4 separate regions of the Homo sapiens genome follow, and all the other regions are linked to region 1. Evidence: promoter capture Hi-C in 16 types of primary human blood cells and fetal thymus (Javierre and others, 2016). All regions are on one chromosome and are shown on one strand. Each heading gives the region's core, a stretch centred on a gene start or on the middle of the fragment in contact. The rest is flanking DNA. Distances are from core to core; before and after follow the strand shown.

Region 1 (6,136 bases), core at 3,526-6,025:
GCATATGCAACAGCTGGGGCACAGCAGGAGCTCCACTCTGAAGCAGTGCACGCAGCAGCTCAGGAGCACCAGCGCCTGCCCGCAGCGCCAGATGCATGGCTGAGTCTCCATGCCGATCCAGCAGAGCTGGGTCTGCACCTACCCGCAGCAGAAAGCTCACCACACTCGTCTGCCCCGTGATCACCGCCAGGTGCAGGGGCGTCTGGGGATGAAAGCAGGGTGAGCCAGGCCCGAGACCCACTTGCCTTCCAACCCCTCCCACCTCCCCAGTAGGCGCCCCCGCACCTGGTGCAGGTGGTTGGTGAGGTTGACAACGCCGAGGTCCTGGGCGTGGTGGATGACATAGACTATCTGCTCAATGACACTGGTCTGCCCGTGGATGATGGCTAGGTGCAGTGGTCTGGGGGTTGGGGAGCGAGAGTCTGGCCCAGCCACTCAGAGCATCCTTCGCTTTCAAGGCCCCACCGCCCTCATAGTCTCCCTCGCTGGGGCCCATGGAACCCAGCACGTGGCCCAGGGCATCGCTGTGCCTGCACTTAACGTTTCGCAGCACCTTTTGAGGTAGGTAAGTGCTATGACTGTACCCCTTGCACGGTCGACCAAACTGAAGTTTGGAGAGACCAAGCAGCTTGAACAGAGCTTGTGAACACCGAGGCCGGACTTGAAGCCTGGCGTGTCCGAAAACTGCAGAGCCCGCCTCCGTGCCGGTCCCTTTCCTGCCCCCACCCCGCGCCTCGTCCGCCAGGCCCTCTGTTGCCTACGTGTCTCCGTTCTCGTCCTGCGCCGTCAGCAGGTGGCGCTGTCCCGCCAGCAGCGCGCGCGCGTCCGCGGTGACGCCGTAGTCGAGTAGGGCTCGGGCGCTGCGCTGCGCCAGGCCGAACAGGCGCGCGTTGTACTCTCGAGCTACGGGCCACAGAGGGCGTGGGTCAGGGCTAGGTCCTCAGCCCCGGCGCCCCGACCGCCCGTGCCCCGGAGTCCATACCTCGCTGCAGCATCTCCGGGGCCTGCGGCTCGCACTGGGGGGTCCTGGAGGGGGCGCTTGGCTCCGCGGCTTCCTCCCCGGAGTCCCTGCTGGGCACCGTGGCGGCCATCTGCGCCCCGCCCCCGCCTCCCGGGTAGCAGCCCATGGGGCCCGCGCCGGACTGGTAGGGGCTGTAGGCCAGGGAGGAGGGGAAGAAACCGAGGCTGCCACCTGTGGATACAGGCAGGGCTGTGGGAAGCGGGCACCAGCCATGACTCTCCCAGATTTTTTTTTTTTTTTTTTGAGACGGAGTTTCGCTCTTATTGCCCAGCCTGGAGTGCAGTGGTGTGATCTCAGCTTACTGCAACCTCTTGTCTCCCAGGGTTCAAGCGATTCTCCTGCCTCAGCCTCCCGAGTAGCTGGGATTACAGGCGCCTGCCACCATGCCCAGCTAATGTTTGTATTTTTAGTAGAGACGAGGTTTCACGCTGTTGGCCAAGCTGGTCTTGAACTCCTGATCTCAGGTAATCTGCCTGCCTTGGCCTCCCAAAGGGCTGGATTACAGGCGTGAGCCACCACGCCCGGCCTCCCCCAGATTTTTTTCCTCCACAGCTTCTCTTACCTTTACCCCTCCCTCCATCAGTACCCCCTCACCTCCTCCAGCTCCTCCGTAGCCCCCGGCTGCACCCCCAGAGCCTCCACCCATGTGGGAGCCACCCCCGAAGGGCTGGGAGAAGGTGGGCAAGGCCTTCCTCCGCTTCCGCTGCACCTCTTCCTTGTCTGGGGGCAGAGGAAAATGAGATTGAGCCCAGTTATTGTGTCATGCCTCAGGGGCCCTTCCCAGAAGAGCCCTCAGGGCCGGCTCCTAGGAAGCACCTCCTGGGACCCTCGCACTTCTGACTTGGCTCATGCATCCCCACATCTAGCTCTTGGGACCTTCTTCTAGCCCAGCCTGGCCCCCCGCCAGCACCCTGAGGTCCTCAGCCCAGCTCCACCTTCCACCAGAGGGTAATAGGTGAACTGTTTGGAATCAGACACGTCCCCTCCTCGCTTGCGTTTCAGTTGCAGAAACACTGTTACAGGCCGCTCAATCTTCATCTTGTGATAGGGGGGTGTCCGGAACACAATGGCATACTGGGGGGTGCAGGGAGACACAGGGTGTCAGTGAGTCCTTAGCCTAATTTAGCCCCCAGCCCGGGCCCGGGCCCTAGCCCTGGGTACCTGTTTATGCACATCTGTGGGAGAGAAGTCCCCAAAGGCCTGCCATCCATTCTCATCATCCTCATAGAACCGAACCTCAATGTCATCTACAAGGAAAACGGAAGCTTGGCCACAGCTCCCGGTGGAATCTCTGGGGCCATTTACCCTAGAGCTTCCCTGGCCCCAGTCTTATACTCGATGTCCTTGGTGCCCAAAGTGGGCTCCAGTCTCACCTTTCTGCACCTTGTCACAAAGCAGATAAACTTCATCTCCACCCCGCACAGAGCCTGCTGTCTTGTCCATTCGAGAAATCTTCAGGTTTGATGCCCCCGGAGATTCTATGGAGTGGGATATGGATTAGTTGAGATGATGCAATAGCCAAGGCCACATTTAAGAAGCTGGGGGCTTTGTATTCCTTATCTCAGCAACCCCTGGAGCTGCAGGAAACACCCAATATACACATTTACTAAAGACAGAAGCTTCGGGGGGGAAATGACTTGCTCAGGATCACTCAGCTCATATGTGGCAGGGCCAGGTTCTGAAACCTGGGTCTGTTTGACTGCACAGCTTGAGGTCACCCCTCATGCCACCTCTGCCACCAGGCCTGGCACCCCAGGCAATCAGGATACTCACTGCTGTCATGGATGGGCTGGGAGATGACTGGCTTCAGGGGCAGGGAGAAGGAGCCATCACTGGCTCTAAGGAAGGCAGAGAAGCGCAGCCGCACTATACTCAGATCCATCACCTTCTTCAGTTCTTTGGCCTCTTGCTCCAGCTCCCGCTGCTCGGCCTCTGGGCAGTAGGTACATGTGTGACCCCTGGGCTTCTCCCTCCCTGCTCCTTCCATGAGCACCTCCCATGACCCACCCACCCCCTGCACCCATACCCGACCCACCCCCTGCACCCATACCCGTAAGGCCCTGGGGCCTAGAGCGGAGCCGCTGCCTCTGAAGTTTTTGTATCATAGTCCCCATCATGTTCTTCTTAGTCACATGCAGGACACCCAGGTTGTTAAATCTGAGAAGAGAGAATCGGAGGCCTTTGGCCATGCAGTTCTTTCTTCCTGAGGCACCTTTCCCATTGCCAGGGCTCAGCTCAGCCTTACTTCCTCAAGGAAGCCATTGGAGTTTCTACTTAGGCCCTTGGGTTTGGGGCCAACCTACATCTTTCCCCTTGGTCAGATGCTAAGCTCATGGAGGTGGGCTGGGGCCTGGGACTGGCAGACGGGCATACCAGTGGGGGCCAGGCGTAGAGGGCACCTACTGGGCAGTCATGTCCTTGGGCCCCACAGAAACGGCGCAGATCCCCAGCTCCGAGCATTGCTTGCCCACCAGACTGTGGGCATGAGCACGAGGTGGGTCACTGTGTGTTACCAGGTCCACCTCGATCTTGGCTGGTCCCTCGTAGTTACAGATCTAGGAGAGGCAGGGACTGTCAGTCAGGGCCTTGGGCATGCTGTCCACTTAGCCCACCCTCCAGCACCATCCTGGCTCACCTTGACAGTGGGATAGGTCTTTCGGCCCTTCTCACTGGAGGCACCGGGCAGTCCTCCATGGGAGGGGCCTTCACAGCCATATCGAAATCGGAAGCCTCTCTGAAGGTCCAAGGGCATAGTAGCATTGTGATCAGGGAAGACCACCCAGGCCAGCAGTGACCGCAGTGCCTGGTAGTAGCCCTGAACCAAACTACAGCACTCTGATCAGCAGCAGTGACCATCCAATCCCCTGTGGCCTCCTTCGGCAATGGCTCCTCCATGGCCAGCCAGCTACCACTACCCCATTTGTCCCCAAAGCTGAAGCCATTCCACACCCTCCCTTTTGCTCACTCACCTGCTTAGGCTGTTCCACGATCACCAGGTAGGGGCCATCAGCTGGGGACAGAGAGACCTTGCTGAGCCACGATCTCCCAGCCCCTCCCCCAGAGAGAGGGCACATGCTCTCCCTCCCCCGCTTTAGGACTAGGGGAGGTTAGTGAACTTGCTGACCTGTTTCTGGGGCTGGCTCCTTGGGTTCCACAATGGAGGAGTTCAATTTGAAATCATCATATTCAATAATACCATCCAGACCCTGGTTTGGAGACAGACTGGGGGTGGCATCCGACTCTCAGCACCCCCCACAGCCCCACCTCCCATCTCCAAGTCTTCAGTGGTCACTCCCCCCTCCTCCTCAGACCCAAGAGAAAGCTCCTTTTGGAGGCAGAGTTGCAGACAGATGGACAGACTGGCAGGCTGAGAGCATCTGCGAGCATACAGGTGTAAGGCAGCAGAGGGGGCTCGGGCAGACAGGTGGACAGACACGAGGGGCAGCCGGCCGGGTCAGGGGCAGGCGGCATGACTCACTGGGTTGTAGCAACTCTCCATGTCTCTGGGCTAGGCCCGGCTCTGTCTAGTGGCTCCGGCCAGGTTCTGCTTCCCAGAATTTTAGACGCCCGCCTAAAGTTGGGAGGAGTGGCGTGGGGGAGGGGGTCAGATCTAAATGGGGGTGGGCGGGAGATGGGGGCCCAGATTTGGGGGAGGGTCCGACCTCCTCCAGCCGCCTGTCCGGGTGTGGCGGGTGAGATCCGGTGGAGAGCGAGATCCGGAGTTGGGCTTGGCCGGGGAAGGGGCAGGAAAGTTAGAGCAGCTTAGGAAAGTCCCGAAAATACCAAGGGGAGGCGGGGCCGGAGGGGGCGGGCCTGGAAATGACGCCACTGGCCCCGCCCTCGCGACGGGAGGGGCGGGAGGCCCTCGACAGTCTACGGGCTCCCGCTGCTTTTCAGCGGGCAGAGGTCTAGGAGAATCCGGGAAGCCCCGGTGGGGGTTAAGCCCCCTCCTCCCTCCAGGGCAGGGAACAGGAGGGTCTTTCACGGCCGGGAGGAGGCTGGCAGTCTGGGGCCAAGTCCGCCTCCCGCTCCCCTCCCCCGGTCTGGAGCAACCTTGGGATTTTCTGCCAGGAGGGAGGCCACGGCTGATAAACCCCGGGGGCTTTTGGGGGGACATTCCTGCTGTCGGACGGCCTCCCCTTCGAACAGCCTGTAGGCGGGGGCTCTTTCCTGTGGGAGGCCCCGGGGTTCTGCCCCGAGAACGCGATTCTGGGGCTGCGGGAAAAGTGTCTCCTCCTCGGAGTGGGCTCTTTTCTCTCTCTCCCAAACCTCACAACAGCAGCTGGTCCCACACCGCACCGGTTCTGGGCGCGCAGGCGACAGGGAGATCTCTGCACGCTCCCCCCCCCCCCCCCCCACCTAATACAAGAGTGTGTCTCCATCACAGCTCCACAAGTGTGTTTCGGCTGTAGTGCTTGGTTGCATGTTGTGTGTCCATGGCGTCAACATGAGTGTGCAAGCGAGCATGTGTGTAGATAGGTGAATCCCGAGCTTCTCAGTGTGGGTGTGTGTCAGCGCCTGTCTTGATGTACGGACACGGGTGAGCGTATCTTGAGTTTGTGCGTGAAGGGTGTGGGTGCAGGCACCAGTGCACCGGTGGGCACGTCTCCGTGTGCATGTGTGTGCGAGTGCGACTGCACGGACGCTGCCGTGTGTGCGCCAGCACAGGTACAGGTGTACGTACGGGTCCGCGTATCTTTGTACAACGGTGTCGACGTGGATCCGAGTGTCGTCGCCTGCGCGCCCTTTCCGGCTGTGTGCAGCTGCTGCTCTCCAGCCCCAGGCGCTGTCCGCTAAAGGCCCTCCTCCCTCTTTTCTCTTGTCCCGGCCACCCAGGGGTCTGAATCCAGCCACTCACCGTGGCGGCGGCTCTGGTTGCGGCTTCTCTCCGCGCCCGACCCACCTGGGACCGGTCGCGACACCTCGCCTGCCAGCAGGGCTCAGGGCCGGGAAAGCCCCTTCTCGGCCCCCCGGAGGGGGGAATTCCCATGACGTTTCCGTGCGTCACGCCTCGCGCCCTTTTTCATTGGCTGAAAGTTTAACTCTGGACTGGCGCAGCCAACCCGGAGCGACTCGGGCGCGCCCCTGAGAGGGGACAGGCTCACTCAGGGCGGG
Region 2 (7,718 bases), core at 5,219-7,718, 200 kb before region 1:
GGCGACAGAGTCAGACGCCGTCTCAAAAAAAAAAAAAAAATTACTCTTACCAATGGTCCACACATCCTCCTCCCAGGACATTCAAATACATCAGGTATTTATCAATTTTATTTTCTTGGAGACATTTCTCCAGAGGATCCTTCCAACCCGCTCCCACCTGAGTTGGCTGCCTTTCATTCCTGCTATACCGTTGTCATCTGGGATCACTCTCCCATTCACCCCGGATTCTCCTTGTCTCTTTCTCATGTTGAATCCATTTCCTACCCCCATATGTCTTCCTCACTTAGATTTGGATGGAGTGTATCCTCTAGCTGATTTCACTTTATTTTTTTAGTATGCCTCTCTCAGCTAAATGGTCTCTCCTGAACTGCCACCTTCAGGGGTTTCCAGGCAAACTAAAATACCAGCTTTCCTCTGTGCACCGGCATGCAGGCATCAAAGACCCTGTTTCCAGTTATGTTTTCTGGTGAACTGGCATGTATCCCTCCACCTTTATCCTCTTTTACAGGCAATACTCAGTGAAGAGGCTCAGATCTAGAGTCACACCACTCAGGTTCAAATCCTGGCTGACACTTAATCCCTGCAGTCTGATGCTAGATAAGTTCTACAACCTGGCTAAGTCTCAGTGTTCTAAGTCACAAGACAGGAACAAGGGCATCCCACGACGCAAGGCCTGGCACAAGGTGATGCGCAATAAAAACTGCCCACTCAGCCGCGAGGACCAGCCCAGGATTCCTTCTATATTGAGAGCACCACACCAAGGGGTGGTTTATGGGATGGCTTAGAGGTGCAATTGATCTAAACTGATCTATTTCATCTTTAACCACCTGTCTATATAACACATTCTATACTTGTATTTCTCACTGCATAAGGTGACTTTTTATAGATCCTAATATACCCTCTCCTTCCAGTGTCAAGGTAGATTCCTGATTTCTAGCAGTGTACAGTTCATAGTACATGCCTTGATCACCCTACCTACACATAACAGACCAACAGAGTCTCAACCATGCTTCCCCTCCACCCTGGTCTCTCTGAACGGAAAAGTCTTAATTTTTCACATTCGCCTAAAGGGCATTGGTCCCATTCAGTCAGTGGCAGCATGGGTGGAAAGGAGAGGAGCTGAACCATTGAGACTCCTTTTAGCCACAATCCCAGTCCTGTGAGTCATGACGTCTGCAGTGGACACACGACTTGGGGCCTTCTCCTTGGGGATGCCCAGGAACAGGAACCAGGGCATCAAGCTTGGCAACTATTCACAAGTGAAGTGGATTTGGCCTGCTGAGCCCAGCCCAACCTCTGGCTTCTGCCCCTTGCCTGGGAGATTCTTCCTTTTGCTTTCTGATTGCTGACGAAAGCTCTGAACTTTCCAGAGAAAGAACCACCTGCAGGTCTCCCTTTAAGGCAGAACTGGAAAAGGGTGTGGCTGTGGGATCGAGGGAGAGGGGACCAGCTCACCTCTGAAGTTCTTATTAAGCACAAGGCTGTATAACCTGGTTATTCTGACAAATTTTCTTATAAGGACAATATAGGAGTAAAAGGCCACAAAAGGTGAATAGTAAACACCAATAACCAAATGACAAAATGCAGTATTTTCTTTTTTTGCTTTGAGACAGGGTCTCAGGCTGGAGTGCAGTGGTGTGATCACGGTTCACTGCAGCCTCAACCTCCCAGGCCCAGGCAATCCTCCCACCTCAGCCTCCTGAGTAGCTGGGACTACAGGCATGTGCCACCACACCTGGCTAATGTTTTGTAGAGATGGGGTTTTGCCATGTTGCCCAGGCTGGTCTCGAACTCCTGGACTCAAGAGCTCTTTCTGCCTCAGCCTCCCAGAGTGCTGGGATTACAGGTATGAGCCACCACACCCAGTTTAAAAATGCAATATTTGGCAGGGCACAGTGGCTCATGCCTGTAATCCCAGCACTTTGGGAGGCTGAGGCGGGCAGATCATAAGGTCAGGAGTTCGAGACCAGCCTGACCAACATGGTGAAAACCCATCTGTACTAAAAATACAAAAATTAGCTGGACGTGGTGGTGTGTGCTTATAATCCCAGCTACTCAGGAGAATCGCTTGAACACAGGAGGCAGGGGTTGCAGTAAGCCGAGATTGTGCCACTGCACTCCAGTCTAGGTGACAGAGTGAGACTTCACCTCGTGTTAAAAAAAAAAAAAAAAAAAAAAAAGGCAATATTTTCATCGGGAATATCCCAAAGGTAAAATGTGATCATGAAATCATGAAATGGTGGGACAGAGTATGGCTAAAGAAGTCAGGGTGAGTAAAATCTGCATCAAGGTTAGGGGATTTCCTAGTCAACTATTAACTCCTCTGGGCACCAGGGGCCGCCATCCCCAGCCCTACCCTCTGACTTGGGTGGGAGATTAGGACCCCTACTCTCCTGAATGAGCTTACTCTAGCCAGAACCCCAGCTTTCCTTTTTCTGAGACACTGAGTCATTTCCTTTCTCTAGCTCTTACCTTTGAGCCTTCCTTTTCCCTTCCCTGGAGAAGTGACTCACTGCTGAAGTGTTGGGTGACACCGAGGATCAAGGATGGGCGATAAAAATACCCCTGATTGTGCAACTCGAGGGAGGGGGATGCAGCGTTTGGACTGAGAATTCAAGCACCAGCAAGGAATTCTGAAGTTGAGGTGTTAACAATGGCCGTGACTTCATCTCTTTGGGGAAGCGGAGCAAAGAACGGAGTTAAAACAGAAATTTACCCATGCCAGACTTGCTGTGGAGCCCCTTGCTCTGCCCTTTCAAATATGTATTTCTGAGAAAGGCCTGTAAAGGCACTTGGCATGACAACATGGATCACAGTGAGGGAGGCAAAAAGGAGCCTGCTGTCCAGGACGCAGGGAGCAGAGAGGCCTGGGCTGTTCCTCTCATCAGCCCTGCAGAGTCTGGCTGGGGCCCTAAGAGAAGGGCTGTTTCTTTCTGGGCTTTCTTTCCAGTGCAAGCAACTGTACTTCCCCAGCGTGGGAGTGTGAGGGAAGCCAACGTGACAGAGAGGGCTCCAGGCTGGCCACTGCGCTGACAGGAGAGACCCCTTGAAGCAGGGTTACCCAACACTGCCCTTCGTGCGAGCGGCACCAGCCACAGCCCAGCTGTTTCCCCAGATGGAAACTCACCTTCCTTCACCCCAATTCACTGGTAAGTTGGATGCAAACAAGATATTTTCTTCCTCTAATTAATCTTCATGGACCTCACAAGCTGAGCAAAACAAAACACAATTTTCTCTAAAGGATGACTCCCTGGCCAGGTTACAAGGTATTCAAGATGGGAATTAGAGGGAGCAAAGTCACCCCAATCAAAGGCCAAACAGACAAGTGCAGAGACACTCCTAAGAGTAGAGAGAAATCTATGTATATGTGTGTGTGTGTATGTTGGGGAGGTGTTGCAAATGTGAATGTTACAGCAGAGGAATTCATGGTACAGAATCTTAATTCTCCATGAAATTAAGGCAAAAAAAATTTTTTAAAGGTCTTAAAAGCTGCTGGTGTGATTCTAGAAGACTGAGAAACTCAGCAGTGATGGTGAGTTCGCTTTTTAGAGGTGCCTCAACTACAAAGTGCTTCTCCCATAGTCAGGAACTTTTCCCCTCTAACATAAGTGTGCACACCTGCATGTGCCCTGTCCCTCTCTGGGAGGGCACACAACTCAGAGAGCTTCCTAAGAGTTCCCAGCCTCAGGTGGTAAGTCACTGGCTGAGGGAGGAGGTGGCCCTAGAATACTGGTGCAGGTTCCCAGCATCTGAGCAACAGTTTAGAGAAATACAGGCCAGGTGTGGTGGCTCATGCCTGTAGTCCCAGCATTTTGGGAGGCCAAGGTAGGAGGATCACTTGAGGCCAGGAGCTCGAGGCTGCAGTGAGCTATGATCTTGCCACCACATTCCAGCCTGGGTGACAGAAGGAGACCCTGTGTCTAAAAAAAAGAAATAAATAAAAGAAAACCTCTACACACAATTCACCTGACCACACGTATCTTCTGTGCACTGTAGAGAGACCAGACTCCGTAGACCATGTCTGACCAGGTGACCTCAGACAGAGAGGATGCCCAGGAACTTTTCCCTCCTCAAATCTCTACAGATATTGGCAGGCACAGTCTTTAAGCCAGGCTGTCCTCATGTGGCACAAAGGAACTGCTTCCCATCCTTCCCAAACTCACCCGAGCAGGCAGTGGGAAGGGAGGCGCCAGCAAGCTGAAGGAGGCTTTTCTCAACTGATCATCTTGGGAAAAGCCAGATACAGATTTCATGGCTGGAATGCAAGGGTTGTGAAATGCTGAAGAAGCCCCAAAGAGGGCCAAGGACTCTCCTTCCGGGAAGGCAGTGGGAGGAGGGCTGGCAATGAAGAGTAGGAGAGGAGCGGGTTACCCAGGGGGCCTGCCTTTCTGGAAAGGAAGAAATAGACCCTCAAAATGGAAAGAAATCCCCTAGCCCTGAGGTGGTAGAGGGACCAGAGAGAGGGTTGTTTTAGTTTCTGCACATGAAGAAAGTAAGGCCTTGTGTCACAAAATAATTTTGGTATAAATGAGCCAATTATGACATAGCTTGTTATTTCTGGGATTTGGAATCATCAAGGCTCATGGCATCTCATAGGAGTTATTTAACTCCCCTAGAGTTTAGTTAAATAAGCCCAATAAGCTTCTAATATGAGGCTTTGGCCTTGTCCTTGGTGCCATGTGAGAGGTCCTGATTCATGCTGCAACTAGTTAGATGAATTCTACCAGTAAAGGTCATTATTTTCTCAGAGACACAGTCTGATGTGTCCCCCATGGGGTCCCTGAGAATGGGGTAAGGAAGATTACATCCATTTTAATGGCTGATAGATGGCTGTAACTAAGCTCTACCCCTTTCCAACCTTGGAAAAGATACTTATTAGCCTCTCTGTACCTCATCCATTAAAGGGGAATATGTAAGATTATCGACCACAGGATGGCTATGAGGATAAGATAAATGAATGGCAGCACATAGTAGCTGGCACATTACCTAGCACAGAATGAGCACTAATAAGGTTTTAGCTGCTGCTGAAGTGTGAAAAGAGCAAGTGCTTGACACCCCCAAGTAGGCCGGCACCCGGCTGCTATTGCCCAGGCTTGATCAGCTGCTCTGAGCCTCTGATTTAGCTCTGTATCTTCCTTAGACCACAGACAAACCCGCGAAGACCCATGCATAAGAGCTCCCTGGCCCAGAAGTCCTGACTAAGGGGAAATCAGACCCGCAGACAAAATATGGCCCACGCTGGCTGCCCCCCAACAGGGAGAGGAGCAAACACTGGTGCCAGCACATTTTGGGTCAGCTTTCTCAGTTGCAATCCATGTGGTGTATGTGAAATGGGGTCAGGTCCCAGAGTGGGCAGCACAGATATTACCGTCACGCTCACTGATCTGAACTGAGTCCATCATCATCGATCCTGAGATAACAGGAAACTTGAGTCTGACAGGCTTGAGGGGTGTGTTGGAGAATGTTCTTGGCAAAGGAGGAGGAGAAACCATTTCTCAACCAATTGCTAACAAATTGGTAACCAATACTGACAGCCTCAGAGGAAACATTCTATTCCCCTCAGACTACAGGTCCTGGTGCTTTAGAGACCTTACTGGGCACTAAACCTTCAGGAAGGGGAGACAACCCCGGCACCTCGAATCTATTCTCACCCATCTCTCTGTATCTCAGCCAACTCAAGCCAAAGGGTAGAAGCTGCAGCCTCTCTGCCTTATGTTTACAGAGAACCCTTGGGCCAGAACCAATACCCGACTGCCCAGTTAGGGTGTAGGCTGAGAGTCTCGGCTTATGTGTATATCTAGGAGCACAGAGCCTTGTGCCCCATTGCAATGTCCAGGGGTGCAGTAGCTGGAAGTGCCCCCAAGCCAGGGAGTGAGATCTCAGGCCTGTTCCAGATACACAAGCGGGGCAAGAAGGTTGTATCTCTGCAGGAGCTTGTGCCCTTCTGCCTAGAAACCCCAGGCTTCCAGAGGCAGAGAGCCATCTGGACTGAGACTGTGTCCATGTTATAGGCCTTCCAGTACCTCTGGCCTGCCAACAGTGCCAAGGAGGCCCAAAGCGAGAAGCCAAGCTCAGGGAATGGGAAGGAGTGTAGACCCGGGACAGGGTCCAGACTCACAGGTAGAGAGCTTCCATATGTCGTATGACCTGGTGTGGCCATCTGCTGCTGCCAGGGGATGATCAGGATGCCTCCAGCCAGCTACTTCAGGGCAGCTGGCTGGAGAAACCTACAGGCCGGAGTTAAAAGCTGCTCTGAGGTGGCGGTGGAGGCTTCTCCAGGCTTTTGCCAAAGAGCTCAACTCTCAGTACAGCCCTGTTCCCAGAGTAACTCTAGTTCCAGTCAGGTCCCAGCAGGCAGCCTCAACTTTAACCAGCCAGGCCTCCCCTGTGCTATCCTCTTGAGTTCCTTCCCCTGCTTATTAAAATTCTAAGGTGCCCTCAAGGTCGATGCTATGTTCTTCCTCCTCCAAGATGCCCTCCCTAACTACCCCAGATCCTGTGGACCTGTCTTTTCTGTAGTGCACTGAAGCATTACTACTTCTGGGAAACACGATCAGCAACTAGAGCTAGAATCCAGAGAAGCAGCCATTTCCAACAAATCACATCGACAGCCAGATGCACACCATTAAAAGGTAACTGTTTCACTCATGTTCTCCCAAAGGAAGAGCCTGTGCACCCCAGATGGCCCCCTAGGTCCGAGCTTGTCAGACAGCAAATGTGTAATAAAGACTTCATAGAAGAAGGCTAGATCACCCTGGTCTTGCAGGATGATCAACCTCCCTTTCAGCCCAAGGCACAGCAATTTCCTCCCTGGCAGGCAAGGTTCCTGCTTTGGGCTGCCAGCCCCCAGGTATCTCCTGCCAGCAGCTATTCCCTAGAGCTGCCCTGGGACTAAGGGCAGAGGGGGGTGCCCAGCTTCAGCCCTGCCTATCACTCATCCCCTCTATCAGAGGAAGAGAGGTTGGCAGGAAGCGGATCTGACCTCTAGGGTGGCCACAGTCTCTCCGGAGGGCTACAGGGGCCCCTGGACAGGCAGCAGAGGCCTGCAAAAGACTTCCTTTCCCTTCCCTGGGCCCCAGGGAAGAGAGGCAGGAAGAAGGGCCTCAGCCACAGGCATCCAGTATGGGGCTGGCCAGAGAGGGAGGCCCCCAGGGTTGCAGCTATCAGCCGGAGACCAGGCTCCAGGAAGGAAGGAAGGGCAACTCTGGCCAAGACTGAGATAAGGAGGGAACCGTGCTCAGCACAATGGGCTCCCACAAGGCTGGGAGGCCCCAAGTCAGATTTCTCCCCAACCTGGCCTCCTGTCTGTTCACACGGCTCATGTAAATATTTACTGATGTTAATATTCACGGTCTGCTGGGTCCCCTCTGAGGCCCTCTCCTATGACCCACAGATAGATCTGTGTGCCCCAGACCATGCCTGCCCTTAAGCCTAGAGATCCTGGGCCCATCCAGCAAGGGCTATGTGCATTGTTCTCTCTCATGCAATCCACAGGGACAGGCCCTTCAGAAAAAAGTCGTCCTCTTGTTCCAGCCCAGGGACACTGGGGAACTTACGGGGCCCGGTCGTGGGCGAGGCCATTCTGCCGCTGAGGGTTGATTGGTGGAAGGACAGGTTTGCTGTTGATCTCGAGTCCTCTCCTCAGGGTCTCCCGGATCTGCTCTGTGTCTGCAACGACACCACTAAGTTGCCCAGTGGCCCAGTGGGCTCCCAGCAAT
Region 3 (7,718 bases), core at 1,494-3,993, 210 kb after region 1:
GTGCAGCTGCAGCAACTTGGTCCACAGCTCCAGATACAGGCCTCCAGTTCCACAGAGCAGGCAGGAACCCCACCCCGCTGTGGGGTGCTGCAGCCGCCCAAATTGGGGCTGCAGACCCAGGCATCCCTGCACTCTTGGGGGGCCTGAAAAGGCCCCCTCCTTGCCCTTGTAGGCTCAGAGTTGCCTGCTCCTGCTGCTTGGCCTCTCCCTGCTCTTGCTGCTTGGCCTTTCCCTGCTCCCGGTGCCCACTCTGATCTTGGACCAGGCTTGGGGCCAAGTCCAGGGGCTGTCACAGTGCTGCCAGGTGTGTGCAAGCTCAGGGCAGTGCTGACACGCCAGTCCCCTGCTGCCCTGCCCCCCTCTGGACTTTGGGCACTGAGGAGTGCAGGAAGGGAAGTTGAGAGGGGCTGAGAGTGACTGGTGCTGGCCTGCAGGTGCCCCTTGGTGCCAGCAGCCTGGGCACTATGGATGGCTGTGGAAGGCAGACAGGCTCCTGGGTGGAAGGGGGCAAGTCCCCAGTGAAGCCCCACCTTCATGCCAGGACAGGCCTGAAGTGTGGGGGCCAGGCTGCCATTCCTGCTGATTGGAGGAGGAACTCATGGTGCTTTTTCCTGTGGACCAGTCAGCACACACTCCCTTCCCCGAGCCACATAAAAGCCCTGGGCTCAGCCACAGCAGGGCAGAGGTTGGGGAGACAACAAGAGGACCAAATGCAGAGAGGAGCTATTCCCCCTGCTGATAGCTAGAGACAATGGGATGGCCAGCTGGCAGAAAGGAGCTACCCTCTCTGCTAAGAGCTTCAGAGACCAGAAGAGACATTGCGTGGACCAGCTTCAGAGAGGAGCCATCCTCTCCAGGGCCTCCTCTCTGCTGAGGGCAGCATACGTCAAGATGACCAGTAGCAGACAGGAGCTGTCCTCTCCAGGGCCTCCTCTCTGCTGAGAGCAGCAGACGTTGGGACAACGAGTAACAGAAAGGAGCTACCCACTGTGCGTCTCCCCTGAGCTGCTCTAATACTAAATAAAGCTCCTCTTTGTCTGGTTCACTTGCCTGAGTACCTCATTCTTCCTGAACGCAGGACAAGAACTCAGGCAAAGCACCACTGGCCACAGAGGTTTCTGGCCAGAAAAATTGACATCCAGTGATCCCGTAATACTACTTTTCAAAAAATTTTCATGAAGATCATTTGTTTTGGCTGGGTTTATAATTTTATAACCTTCTATGCCAAACCCTGAAACCTCAAAATATCTACCAGAGACAAATATAAAATCCAGACAAAAATGTATGCTCACAATTTTGAAGACATTTTTATTTTCATTTTACCAATAATTTTACAGCCAGCTGGTTTCGAAAAAATTTACTTAACTCACACGAACTTGAAAATTGCTTTGACTTATTTAATTTATGAGTGCTGTTTTACTTATAAGCCAATTTGGTAGACACAACATATACCAATAAGGGTACATACAAATAAACACATCTAAACATGAATATACACACATAAACAAAGATCCAATAGCTTTTACCTTGGAACTATAGCTATGAGATAGCAATACAAGCTTACTGGTTTTACATGGTTACACTTTGTCCCAGTAGGTAATTCAGTGAAGGCTGTGAATCAAAATTTTGGGTATAGTAGTTTCCATGGCAGTTTGATTTTTAAAGGCCAAACCTCCTCAGACTCCAAAGAACATTGGGGTCAAACAGCAACAAAGGAGAACATCACATACCTGCCAGGCCCAACCTTGCTTAGAACAGCAGCACAAAAGCCTGGATACACACAACTCCATCCCACTTTCCCATTCAGCAGCAAACTCCAGATTCCAAACAGCAAACGCCAGATTCCAAACAACACTGGGGCCAACAGTATTGCAAATGAATATCAGTTTACCGAATTCTAACTTCTCATGACTATATAAAACACACACAAATGATCACCAAAACACAATCCAACTGCTGCAGCAAAAAACAAGCCCCAAGAGTGTCCAAACTCAAACAGTCAGGGTGCTTCCTCTCTTCATTGGTTGGGCTTGATCAAATGCAAACAAAAATTCCTTAGGAAATTTCCCAAATTGAGAGGAACTGATCCCGCTGTCTGGTACACACACGAGGCACTCACTTGCCCAGACACAACATACAATTATAAACTAGCCCCCAAGAGTGTCCACATAAAAACAGTCAGGGTGTTTCCCTCCCTCAGTCAGTTGGGCTTGTTCAACCTGCAAATGAAAATTCTTTTAAAAATTTCCCAAATTGAGAGGAGCAAATCCTGCTGTCTGGGCCCACAAAGGATACTCACCTATCTGGATGCAGATGTCCAATTTCGAAGGCTATTCTTCCAAGGCAATCAGGAGGATGGTTGGGGCTGACCATGGTGGGGCCAGAGAGAAACTGAAACTCACTTCCAGCTGATATTGGTCAATAGATGGGCATGGTGCATGCCTGTAGTCCAGCTACTGGGGAGGCTGAGGCAGGAGAATAACTTGAACCTGGTGAAGTGGCTACATTGTCTGGGGTATATGCCCTCAGGTATATATTTATCATTGTCACAGGCCAGGAAAATTTAGGACACAGACACACACAAGGGGTTTAGGAGCAGAGGTTTAATAGGTAGAAGAGAAAAGAGAAATAGCTTCCTCTATAGAAGAAGAGGTCTCCGAATGGAAAGGACTGGCTGGTAGTGAAGACACCAGTTTGAGGAGGCAGTGTCTGATTTAGTGTGGACTGTTTTAATGTGTCTTGATTTACATAGGGCTCACAGATTGGTTTGATCAGCTATGACGTTTACATAGTGCTCAGGAAAGGCTGGTTGCCCCACCCTAATCTTGTTACGCAAATGGCCTTTCCAGTTGATCGACACCATCTGTTTTTTTTTTCTTTTTCTTTTTTTTTTTTTTTTTTTTTGAGACAGAGTTTTGCTCTCGTTATCCAGGCTGGAGTGCAATGGTGCGATCTCAGCTCGCTGCAACTTCTGACTCCCCGGTTCAAGCAATTCTCCTGCCTCAGCCGCCTGAGCAGCTGGGACTATAGGCGCCCACCACCACGCCCAGCTAATTTTTATATTTTTAGTAGAGGCGAGGTGATCGACACCATCTGGTCTGCTCCTTACAGTACACATGACTGGCAGAGAAGGGAAGATGAAGTCGCTATCTTGAACATGTCTACTCCTTAGTTCCTGCTGGCATTCACCCTTGCAAACTCCCAGGTTTCAGGCTGCTCTTTGTTAGAAAATGATTTGGGGCAGCTTTTCATTAAAAAAGAAAAAGAAAAGCCTTACTGAGGATTCCCGTACCCTGGCTATCTGCCCAAGTGATTTCTTCTGACTCCTATAGCACTGGGAGGCAGAGGTTGCAGTGAGCCAAGATTGTGCCACTGCACTACAGCCTGGGTGACACTGTGAGACTCCATCTCAAAGGAAATAAAATAAAATAATAAAATAAAATAAAATTTGTCAGGCAGCTGCATAAGAGGGCTTCTGAGACTCCACCCATGGCAGCTGAGCCACAAGCAACATGTTCCCAGTCAGGGAACCAAAATATGTTATTGAAACATCAGGGGTTCAGTCTAGGTCCTACAGCTCGCTGCACAGAAAGCCAATGACTGAGATGACAAGTATTGCCAAGGAAGAAGGCTTTAATCGGGTGCTGCAGCTGAGAAGATGGGAGCTCAAAACCTCAAATCCATCTCCCTGATCAACTAAAACAAGGGTTTTATACAGAGGGGAAGAAATGTAATGTGTAAGAAAACAGGAAGTAGGGAGGGCCAAGGAAGTAATCATGATGAATGAGGGGTCCAAAGTCTCATTGTCTGGATGTAGTGATCTGGTGAGTTTCAGTTCATTGATACTTTTTTTTTGCGGGGGAGAAGCCTGAAGGTCATTTACTAATGAAGGAACTCAAATAAAGCAAATATAAGTTTCAAGCTTTAAGACCAGAAAGATAAATTTTTATGTTTATCCAAAACAATAGTCTCTGGAACTATTGGGTTGATTTCATTTGTTTGTTTTTTACCTTTTAAGTTCAGGGGTACATGTGCAGGTTTGTTATATAAGCAAATTTGTACTTGTCACAGCGGTTTGTTGTACAGATTATTTCTTCACCCAAGTATAAAGTCTAGTATTAGTTATTTTTTCTGATCCTCTCTCTCCTCCCATCTTCCACCCTCCAGTAGGCTCCAGTGTCTGTTGTTCCCCTCTTTGTGCCAATGTGTTCTCATCATTTACCTCCCACTTATAAGTGAGAACATGCAGTGATATGTTTGGCTCTGTGTCCCCACCCAGATCTCATCTTGTAGCTCCAATAAGATGTGGGAGGGACCCAGTGGGAGATGACTGAATCATGGGGGTGGGTCTTTCCTGTGCTGTTCTGGTGATAGTGAATGGGTCTCAAAAGATCTGATGGTTTTAAAAATGGGAGTTTCTCAGCACAAGTTCTCTTTTTGCCTACTGCCATCCACGTAAGTTGTAACTTGCTCCTCCTTGTCTTTCTACTGTGATTGTGCGGCCTCCCAGCCATGTGGAACTGTAAGCCCATTAAACTTCTTTCTTTTGTAAATTGCCCAGCTTCAGGTATGTCTTTATCAGCAGCATGAAAATGGACTAATACAGTAAATTAGTACCAGGAGTGGAGTGTTGCTGAAAAGATACCTGAAAATGTGGAAGCAACTTCAGAACTGGGTAACAGGGAGAGGCTGAAACTATTTAGAGGGCTCAGAAGAAGAGAGAAAAATGTGGAAAAGATTGGAACTTCCTAGAGACTTGTTGAGTGGCTTTGACAAAAATGCTGATAATGGGTCAGGCATGGTGGCTCACACCTGTAATCCCAACACTTTGGGGGGCCGAGGCGGGCAGATGACCTGACATCGGGAGTTCAAGACCAGCCTGACCAACATGGAGAAACCCCTTCTCTACTAAAAATACAAAATTAGCCAGGCGTGGTGGTGCATGCCTGTAATCTCAGCTACCCGGGAGGCTGAGGCAGAAGAATCACTTACCTAGGAGGTGGAGGTTGTGGTGAGCCAAGATCACACCATTGCATTCCAGCATGGGCAACAAGAGCGAAACTCCGTCTCAAAAAAAAAAAAATGTTGATAGTGATATGAACAATAAGGTCCAGACTGAGGTGGTCTCAGATGGAGATGAGGAACTTGTTGGGAACTGGAGCAAAGGTGACTCTTGTTATGTTTTAGCAAAGAGACTGGCAGCATTTTGCCCCTGCCCTAGAGATTTATGGAACTTTGAACTTGAGAGAGATGATTTAGGGTATCCGGTGGAAAAAAGTTTCTAAGTAGCAAAGCATTCAAGAGGTGACTTGGGTGCTGTTAAAGGCATTCAGTTTTGGTTTTGTTTTTTTTTTTCAGACGGAGTCTTGCTCTGTTGCCCAGGCTGGAGTGCAGTAGCACAATCTCGGCTCACTGCAAGCTCCACCTCCCAGGTTCACACATTCTCCTGCCTCAGCCTCCCGAGTAGCTGGGACTACAGGCGCCCACCACCACGCCCGGCTAATTTTTTGTATTTTTTAGTAGAGACAGGGTTTCACCGTGTTAGCCAGGATGGTCTCGATCTCCTGACCTCGTGATCTGCCCACCTCAGCCTCCCAAAGTGCTGGTATTACAGGCGTGAGCCACCGCGCCCAGCCGGCATTCAGTTTTAAAAGGGAAACAGGGCATAAAAGCTTGGAAAATGTGCAGCCTGACAATGCGATAGAAAAAAAAATCCCATTTTCTGAGGAGAAATTCAAGCTGGCTGCAGAAATTTGCATGAGTAATGAGGACCCGAATGTTAATCCCCAAGACAATGGGGAAAATGTCTCCAGTGCATGTCAGAAGTCTTCACAGCATCCCTTCCCATCACAGGCCAAGAGGCCTAGGAGGAAAAATTAGTTTTGTGGGCTGGGCCAAGGGTTCCTGTGCTGTGTGCAGCATAGGGACTTAGTGCCTGTAATCCCAGCTACTTGGGAGGCTGAGGCAGGAGAATCACTTGAACCCAGGAAGCAAAGGTTGCAGTGACCCGAGATCTCACCACTTCAGCCTGGGCTGTGTCTCAATTTAAAAAAATAAAAATAAAAAATAAACAAGGCCAGAAGCAATGGCTCACGCCTGTAATCCCAGCACTTTGGGAGGCCAAGGCAGGTGGATCGCGAGGTCAGGAGATCGAGACCATCCTGGCTAACATGGTGAGACCCCGTCTTTACTAAAAATACAAAAATCAGCCAGGCGTGGTGGTGGTGCCTGTAGTCCCGGCTACTCAGGAGGCTGAGGAAGGAGAATGGCATGAACCTGGGAGGCGGAGCTTGCAGTGAGCCGAGATAGTGCCACTGCACTCCAGCCTGGGTGACAGAGCAAGACCCTGTCTCAAAATAAATAAAATAAAAATGCCAAGGCCAGGCGTGGTAGCTCATGCCTGTAATCCCAGCACTTTGGGAGGCCGAGGCAGGCAGATCACGAGGTCAGGAGTTCAAGACCAGCCTGGCCAAGATGGTGAAACCCCGTCTCTACTAAAAATACAAAAATTAGCTGGGTGTGGTGGCAGCGCCTGTAATCCCAGCTACTCGGGAGGCTGAGGCAGAGAATTGCTTGAACCAAGGAAGCGGATGTTGCAGTGAGCCAAGATCGCGCCACTGCACTCCAGCCTCGGCAACACAGCAAGACTCCATCTCAATAAATAAACAAACAAACAAACAAACAAATCTTTCATTCTGTAGCATTTCAAATTAAGGGGAGAAAAAAATAAATTGGCCAGGCTTGGTGACTCATGCCTGTAATCCCAGCACTTTGGGAGGCCAAGGAAGGCAGATCCACTTGAAGTCAGGAGTTTGAGACCAGCCTGGCCAACATGGTGAAACCCTGTCTCTACTAAAAATACAAAAATTAGCTGGTCATGGTGGCGTGCACCTGTAGTCTCAGCTACTCAGGAGGCTGAGGCAGGAGAATCACTTGAACCTGGGAGGCAGAGGTTGCAGTGAGCTGAGATTGCGCTACTGAACTCCAGCCTCGCGACAGAGCGAGACTCCCTCTCAAAAAATAAATAAATAAATAATTAAGAGGCAGAGGGGGTGGGGCAAAAAAATAATAATAAAATTAAATTATTGATACTGTCCTTAAAGTGGTTATTTTTATAATCCATTATAGTAAAAGTTTCTCAAAAAGCGGCCGAGTGCAGTGGCTCATGCCTGTAATCCATGACTGGGTTCGGCTTTAAAAAGTCTTATCTGAGAATCCTCCTATGGAACAAGTTCCATCAAAGCCAATTTAAAAGCCTACATTAAAAAAATGATTATTCTTGCTGCACTGTATACAAATAATTATGCCAAGTGTAATAAAGCAAACCAGTCCTACCATGATTTGTCTTTAGTAAAAATGGGAAACTGGAGAGAGAAAAATTATGTTTTAAAACTATAGTACACCTGTTGTTAGATTCTAGTCTTGCCTAATATTTTTTCAATTTTTATTGTTTTCTTTTCTTTTCTTTTCTTTTTTTAGAGACGGAGTCTCGCTCTTTCGCCCAGGCCGGACTGCAGTGGCGCTATCTCGGCTCACTGCAAGCTCCACCTCCCGGGTTCATGCCATTCTCCTGCCTCAGCCTCCCGAGTAGCTGGGATTACAGACGCCCGCCACCGCGCCCGGCTAATTTTTTGTATTTTTAGTAGAGATGGGATTTCACCGTGTTAGCCAAGATGGTCTCGATCTCCTAACCTTGTGATCCGCCCGCCTCGGCCTCC
Region 4 (7,718 bases), core at 1,530-4,029, 190 kb after region 1:
ATCTGGCCTAAGGTTTGTTAATTTTGTTGAACATTTTTTTTTTTTTTTGAGACAGAGTCCCTCTCTGTCGCCAGGCTGGAGTGCAGTGGCACTATCTTGGCTCACTGCAACCTCCACCTCCCGGGTTCAAGTGATTCTCCTGCCTCACCCTCCCAAGTAGCTGGGACTACAGGCACACACCACCATGCCCAGCTAATTTTTGTATTTTTAGTGGAGATGGGGTTTCACCATATTGGCTAGGATGGTCTCAATCTCTTGACCTCGTGATCCGCCCACCTCAGCCTCCCAAAGTGCTGGGATTACAGGCGTGAGCCATCGAGCCCAGCCTTTTGTTGATCTTTTCAAACAAACAACTTTTGGTTTTTATTGATTCTCTCTATTGTTTTCTCTATTTCTTATTTCATTTATCTCTGCTCTAGTCTTCATTTCTTTCTTTCTGCTACCATTTGTTTTTCTTTTTCTACTTCCTTAGATTGTAAAGTGTGGTTGTAGATTCAACATCTTTCTCCCTTTTTCTTTTTTTTTAAATTTTTTATTGATATATAATATTTGTACATTTTTATGGGGTGCATGTGGTATTTTGTTATATGCATAGCATATGTAATGATCAAGTCAGGGCATTTAGGGTATATGCCATTGTGAAAAAACATTTAAATGGTTCATTTTCAGGGCATGATAAATCTATGTACTAGCAGCCACCCTGCAGATGTGACAAACTGAATGGCTCATGCACCTAGAAAATCATCATAAGAGAACAAGATGTAGAAGAAGGGTCAGCCCATAAAAGGTGAGAAAGTTTCATTATTGGGAAGTTGAAACATAGGCAGGGAAGGGGACCAGAGTATAACCTTATAAGGGGATAATGAAACTTAGGTGACGTCTGGGAAGATTGTAACCCTGTAGTACTCAACCAGTAAGGAACTGGGGGAAAGACTTGCATGCTAGGAGATAAATTACCTGCTGTAACTGCCCCAGGTGTGCCTGCCTACCAGACATCTGATCTTGCAAGATTGCCATTAAAAGTCTTGCTTCTGCTGCACTTCCTGTCTCTGAGTCCATTATTTGATTTTGGACAGGTGAGCGTTTCTCACAAACTTGGGGGCTCATCCAGGATCTCTGTGCCTGCATGGAATGGGACTCCAGCCAAGAGGGGAGACACATCTCACCCAATTTTAGGTGGCCCGCTCTGTGCAGGTGTCCCAGCTCCCCACATAGGCCATAGACAAACCTGAGATTGTTATTCAGCAGGCAGCAGAGGTGACATAGGGAGAAAAGCAGACACTATGGCAACCAGGCAACCTTGTGCATGAGCCAAGGTAGGAAAACCAGACTGTAAGTACCACCTTGGTGGTTGGGCATTTTTGGAGGTTGAGTGTGTGTGACTGAGACATACCCTAGATACGAAGCAAGCACGGAGTCCCAATCCACAGTTCCGTTCTCCTGCGAGGGAATCGGCAGGAAACAGATGAAGCGATTCTCAGGGTGTGCAAGAAACCTCCAGTAGGAGGGTTGAGTACATAGGGAAAGGCCCAGACACAGAGACTGGCCAAAAATGGGAAACAGAAATTCTAGGCCTAGGGACAAAGGAAAGAGGGAGCCAAAGAGACTCCCTCTGACATTCCCCCAGATAGTCCTTTGGGGTGAATGAATGTTGCAGGTTTGGAGGGACAACCCTGCAGCCAGGGACAAGGAAAAGCAAAAGTTGATAAAGTATTGCTGTTTTACCTGACCCAAAGACCCCATTCATAAGCCTTCAGTCTTTTGGCCTAAGGTTGGCTCAGATGAGGATTGGGTGTGCCAAGCTTTAATTCTCTATGTGAATGATAAAACCCCATCTGCACAGGAGAAGATAGGTTATGCTGTCTGTGGGATCAAGGAATTAGCCCCCATGTTCCCCCCTCAAAGAAGAAGAAAAAGAGCCTAGTAAAAAGCCCTTGCCCAGTGAAAAGCCCTGGGACCCCCTATCATGGGAGCCCCCTCCATATGTCTCACAAAATAGGGGACAGGGAGATCAAGGGGCAGCAGGAGAGTTAGAGAAAGAAAGACCTGGAGACCATGGGGGAGCTGAACCAACTGCTCCTTTAGACCCTTATCCAAATTTAAGAAAAGAATTAGAATAATGTAAAAGAGATATTGAGAACTTCCCTATCCCCTCCAAACAGCAAACATCTAGCATGTTCCCTCTTAGGGAAGTTCCCACAGGACAGAAAGAGATTGGCTTTGTAAACGCTCCTCTTACAAGTACTGAAGTTAGGAATTTCAAGAAGGTAATGAAACCACTCCTAGAGGATCCCCTTCATTTAGCAGACAAGTTGTACCAATTCCTAGGACCAGCTTTTATACCTGGACTGAAATAATGCCTATCATGAATATCTTATTCACAGGAGAAGAAAGAGGAATGATTAGGAGGGTGGCAATGACCATCTGGAAGAGGCAACATCCTCCGAGGAAAGGAGTCTTGCCAGCCAAACAAAAAATTTCCAAATGTCAATCCCGAATGGGATAATAATGATCCCAGGGACCAGGCCCAAATGCAGGACCTCAGGGAACTAATAATTAAAGGGATCAAATAATTGACTTCTAGGACACAAAATGTCTCAAATGTCTCAAAGATTCAACAAGAAAAAGAGGAAACTCCCTCTGCATTCCTGCAGAGGCTCAGAGATCAGATGAGAAAATACTCTGGATTAGATCTGGAGGCCCCAGTAGGGCAAGGCCTTTTGAATGTTAACTTTGTAACTAAGAGCTAGCCTGACATTACAAAAAAATTACAGAAGATTGATGGTTGGAATGAAAAATCAATTGAGGAATTACTGAGGGAAGCTCAAAAAGATCTTTGTGAGAAGAGAAGAGGAGAAACAGAAACAAAAAGCGAAAATAATGGTTTCCACTGCAGAGGAGGTAGTCAGGAAGAAGTTAGATCAAGACCCCTCTCAGAGGAGACAAGAAAATACTAGGTTTCAGCAAAAAGACAGAAGAGAAATACAAGGAAAAACTCCTAAGACTGTAAGTGGATGTTACAAGTGTGGAAAACCAGGACATTTTAAAAGAGAATGTCCAGAATGGAAAAAGGAAGAGAAGTAATCCACTGTATGACTTTTGATGAAGATTAGGGAGTCAGGGGTTCCTTGTAAGTAGGTCCCACCAGGAACTCTTGATAAATTTGAGGGTGGGACCCGATGGGGAAGAAGTAACATTTTTGCTTGATACTGGGCTGTCTCTCTCCTTCCTAATTAATCAACCAAGGGGTACAGGACTCGAAGGAAAAATTGACAGTATCAGGGGTAAAAGGGGAGGGATTTCAGGTTCTGATATTCAAGAAAATGGTAATTAGATTAGGACCAGAACAAATAGAGGGGTCACTCTTATATGTTCCTGAAGCAGGCAACTAACCTCCTGAGTTGAGACCTGATTGTGAGATTGGGTTTAGGATTAGGAATAGAGGAAGGACAAATAAAAGTAATGATGGGCCTCCTAACAGAGGAGCAGGAAAGAAAAGATGTCCCCTAGACTTTAGGAGTAGGGATCTCTTTGCCTTTGAATGGGAAAATCCCATAACTGGCAGAAAACAACAGTACTGCTGGACTGTGCTGCCACAAGGCTTCACAGATGCCTCAAACTTATTTGGTCAAATCTTAGAAAAAGTCCTGAAGGAATTCCAACCTTCCAGGGGAAACCAGTTATTACAATATGTAGATGATCTTTTAATTTCTAGGGAGAGGAAGACCAAAGTATCAGAAACCACCATAAGCTTGCTTAATTCCCTAGGAGAAAGGGGGTTGCAAATCTCTAAGAACAAATTGCAGTTTGTAGAAAAATAAGTTAAATATTTAGGATACCTGATTAATGAAGGGAGGTGGAGAATAAACCCAGAAAGAATACCAGGAATAGTGGGCTTCTGCCTAAGACAAAGAAAGAACTCTGAAAATTTTTAGGTTTAACTGGCTACTGGAGGTTATGGATTGACTCATGTGCTCAAAAGACAAAGATCCTGTATCTCAAGTCACAAGAAGAGGAACCTGATCCTTTGCAGTAGTCCCCAGAGGAAATTCAGGCAGTGAAAGTGAGAGGTGACAGCGTGCTGGCAGCCCTCGCAGCCCTCGCTGGCTCTCAGCACCTCCTCGGCCTCACTGGCCGTGCTTGAGGAGCCCTTCAGCCTGCAGCTGCACTATGGGAGCCCCTCTCTGGGCTGGCCGAGGCCGAAGCCAGCTCCCTCTGCTTGCAGGGAGGTGTGGAGGGAGAGGCATGGGCGGGAACCGGGGCTGCATGTGGCACTCACGGGCCAGGGCGAGTTCCAGGTGGGCACAGGCTTGGCAGGCCCCGCACTCCGAGCGGCCGGCCAGCGCCGCCGGCCCCAGGCAGTGAGGGGCTTAGCACCTGGGCCAGCAGCTGCAGAGGGGGCGCCGGGTCCCCCAGCACTGCTAGCCCGCCTGTGCCATGCTCAAATTCTCTCTGGGCCTCAGCCGCCTCCCCGCAAGGCAGGGCTCAGGAATGGCAGCCCGTCATGCCCGAGCCCCCACCCTGCAGTAGTCTCCCGCATGGCCTGAGCCTCCCCGACAGGTGCCACCCCCTGCTCCACAGTGCCTGGTCCCATCGACCGCCCAAGGGCTGAGGAATGCAGGCGTACACCCGCTGCCCCGGCGAGGGATCCACTAGGCAAAGCCAGCTGGGCTCCTGAGTCGGGTGGGGACTTGGAGAACTTTTATGTCTAGCAGGAGGATTGTATATGCACCAATCAGCACTCTGTGTCTGGCTCAGAGTTCGTGGATGCACCAATTAGCACTCTGTATCTAGCTAATCTGGTGGGGACTTGGAGAACTTTTACATCTAGCTAAAGGATTGTAAACGCACGAATCAGCACTCTGTGTCTAGCTAAAGGTTTGTAAATGCACCAATCAGTGCTCTGTACCTACCTAATCTGGTGGGGACTTGGAGAACTTTTATGTCTAGCTAGAGGATTGTAAATGCGCCAATCAGTACCCTGTGTCTAGCTAATCTGGTGGGGACTTGGAGAATCTTTATGTCTAGCTAAGGGATTGTAAATACACCAATCAGGACTCTGTGCCTAGCTCAAGGTTTGTAAACACACCAATCAGCACCCTGTGTCTAGCTAATCTGGTGGGGACTTGGAGAATCTTTATGTCTAGCTAAGGGATTGTAAATACACCAATAGCACTCTGTGTCTAGCTCAAGGTTTGTAAACACACCAGTCAGCACCCTGTGTCTAGCTCAAGGTTTGTAAATGCACCAACCAGTGCTCTGTGGGGACTTGGAGAACTTTTGTGTCTAGCTCAGGGATTGTAAACACACCAATCAGCACCCTGTCAAAATGCACCAATCAGCAGGATGTAGGTGGGGCCAGATAAGGAAATAAAAGCAGGCTGCCCCAGCCAGCAGTGGCAACCTGCTCGGGTCTCCTTTCACACTGTGGAGGCTTTGTTCTTTTGCTCTTTGCAATAAATCTTGCTGCTGCTCACTCTTTGGGTCCGCACTGCCTTTGTGAACTGTAACACTCACTGTGAAGGTCTGCAGCTTCACTCCTGAGCCAGCGAGACCACGAACCCACCAGAAGGAAGAAACTCCAAACACATCCAAACATCAGAATGAACAAACTCCAGACACTCTGGCTTTAAGAACTATAACACTCACCGCAAGGGTCTGCGGCTTCATTCTTGAAGTCAGTGAAATCAAGAACCCACCAATTCCAGACACAAAAGAGCTAAAGCAGGCCCTCCTTACAGCCCCGGTCCTGGCCCTCCCATCTTTAGAGAAACCATTCCATCTATTTGTAACAGTAGACCAGGGTGTGGCTCTTGGGGTGCTCACTCAAACCTGGGGAGGGAAGAGGCAACCTGTTGCTTTTGTCTCCAAGCTTCTCAATCCTGTCTCTTGAGGATAGCCCAAATGTGTGCAAGTAGTAGCTGCCACAGCCCTGCTGGCAGATGAGAGTCAAAAGTTAACCTTTGCTGGGGCCTAACAGTGAGCACCCCACATCGGGTCAGGAATATATTAAATCAAAAAGCCAAGAGATGGTTAATGGATTCTTGGATTCTAAAATATGAAGCCATGTTACTAGAAAAAGATGATTTGGTCATAACAACAGATACTTGCCTGAATCCAGCCAGTTTCTTATGGAAAGGAGAGAAGAACAAAGAGGCATCAGTCCATAACTGCCTTAGATATCATAGAATACCAAATCAAAGTTAGCCCAGACCTTAGAGAAGCTCCCCTACATGGTAGGATAAGCCTGTTTGTGGATGTGTCATCCAGAGTGATAGATGCCAAGAAACATAACAGTCATGCTGTCATTAATAAAAATAAACACTCCTTATGTGAGGAAGGTAGATTACCTAATGGCTGGTCAGCCCAAACTTGTGAATTATATGCTCTTAACCAGGCCATAAAGCTCCTTGAAGGCCAAGAAGGCACTATATATACTGATTCTAAATATGCCTATGGGGTGGTACACAGTTTTGGAAAAATCTGGACAGAGCAGGGCCTAATAAATAGCAAGGGAAAAGAATTGGTACTTGGGGAACTGGTCAGACAGGTTTTAGAAACCTCCTTCTTCCAGCAGAAGTAACCATAGTTCATATAAATGGTCATCAGACAGGCTGGGCGTGGTGGCTCACACCTGTAATCCCAGTACTTTGGGAGGCCGAGGTGGGTGGATCACCTGAGGTCAGGAGTTCGAGACCAGCCTGGCCAACATGGCAAAACTCTGTCTCTACTAAAAATACAAAAATTAGCCAGGCTTGGTGGCAGGTGTCTGTAATCCCAGCTACTCAGGAGACTGAGGCAGGAGAATCACTTGAACCTGGGAGGTGGAGGTTGCAGTGAGCTGAGATCACGCCATTGCACTTCAGCCTGGGAGACAAGAGAGAGACTCCATCTCAAAAATAAATAAATAAATAAATAAATAAATAAAAATAAAAGTAAATGGTCATCAGAAAGGAAACACTATAGAAGCTGCAGAAAACAGGCTTGCAGATGAAACTGCTAAGCAAGCCTCCCTGGAGAAAGAAATTAGACTATTTAGCCTGATCCCAGACATCCCTAAGGTAGTATGAAGACCCCAGCTTACCAGAGAGAAGAAAGAAGAATTAGACAGGATAGAGGGTCACTCGAACTAAAGATGGGAAATGGGTACTTCCTGATGGGAGAGAAATGATAAGTAAACCCCTGATGACAGAACTAATGTCTATATTACGCAAAGGGAGTCATTGGGAACCCCAGGCTCTGTGTGATGGAATACCTAGGAATAACTGGATCCACACCCTCACTAAACAAATATGTGGAAGTTGTGTAACTTGTCAAAGGACAAACAAAAAGGTAATTAGAAAACAGGCCACAGGAGGAAGACCTCCCAGACTGAGACCATTCCAGAGCATTCAAGTAGATTTCACAGAAATGCCTGAAGTAGGAAAACTAAAGTATTTGCTGGTGATAGCAGATTACCTTTCCAGCAGGGTGGAAGCCTTTCCCCTTCCAACAGCTACTGCCACGAATGTGATCAAAATAATCTTAGAGCAGATTATACCCCGATTTGGCTTGGTAGAAAATACTGATTCAGACAATGGGAGCCATTTTACCTCAAGGGTATTAAGGGGAATTACGGAAGGTTTACAAATTACATGGGATTATCACACCCTTTGGCATCCCCCTTCCTCTGGAAACGTAGAAAGAATGAATCAAACTCTCAAAAAGCATATTACCAA

The links. The method cuts DNA at HindIII sites, captures the fragments that hold promoters and counts their contacts. A CHiCAGO score of 5 or more calls a contact.
Region 2: a fragment that was not itself captured here is called in contact with the fragment with the promoter of NFKB2 in region 1 in 5 of 17 cell types (erythroblasts, M1 macrophages, M0 macrophages and 2 more); the score reaches 7.7 in erythroblasts.
Region 3: a fragment that was not itself captured here is called in contact with the fragment with the promoter of NFKB2 in region 1 in 2 of 17 cell types (endothelial precursors and M0 macrophages); the score reaches 7.5 in endothelial precursors.
Region 4: a contact is called between a fragment that was not itself captured here and the fragment with the promoter of NFKB2 in region 1, in 1 of 17 cell types (endothelial precursors). The highest score is 5.2, in endothelial precursors.

What each region holds. Positions count from the first base shown.
Region 1 is chr10:102,394,344-102,400,479 of GRCh38, reverse strand. NFKB2 (nuclear factor kappa B subunit 2) reads right to left here and starts at 4,775. Exons shown (of 23, transcript NM_001322934.2): 1 at 4,684-4,775; 2 at 4,500-4,592; 3 at 4,146-4,227; 4 at 3,991-4,031; 5 at 3,657-3,755; 6 at 3,425-3,576; 7 at 3,072-3,178; 8 at 2,795-2,953; 9 at 2,395-2,499; 10 at 2,183-2,268; 11 at 1,957-2,095; 12 at 1,616-1,741; 13 at 983-1,192; 14 at 762-903; 2 more. The coding sequence starts at 4,520. RefSeq lists silencers at 880-1,199, 6,110-6,136 and enhancers at 2,414-2,708, 4,180-4,299, 4,710-4,759, 5,810-6,099. The HindIII fragment of the contact is 5,152 bases long and covers 2,643-6,136 here.
Region 2 is chr10:102,599,383-102,607,100 of GRCh38, reverse strand. SUFU (SUFU negative regulator of hedgehog signaling) reads right to left here. Exons shown (of 12, transcript NM_016169.4): 8 at 7,557-7,668. Among named protein-coding and RNA genes, the nearest start is that of TRIM8-DT, 40 kb to the left of the region's middle. RefSeq lists enhancers at 2,182-3,381, 6,599-7,349. The HindIII fragment of the contact is 3,650 bases long and covers 4,644-7,718 here.
Region 3 is chr10:102,181,393-102,189,110 of GRCh38, reverse strand. No RefSeq gene overlaps it. Among named protein-coding and RNA genes, the nearest start is that of NOLC1, 33 kb to the right of the region's middle. The HindIII fragment of the contact is 2,363 bases long and covers 1,562-3,924 here.
Region 4 is chr10:102,197,771-102,205,488 of GRCh38, reverse strand. No RefSeq gene overlaps it. Among named protein-coding and RNA genes, the nearest start is that of ELOVL3, 25 kb to the left of the region's middle. The HindIII fragment of the contact is 1,949 bases long and covers 1,805-3,753 here.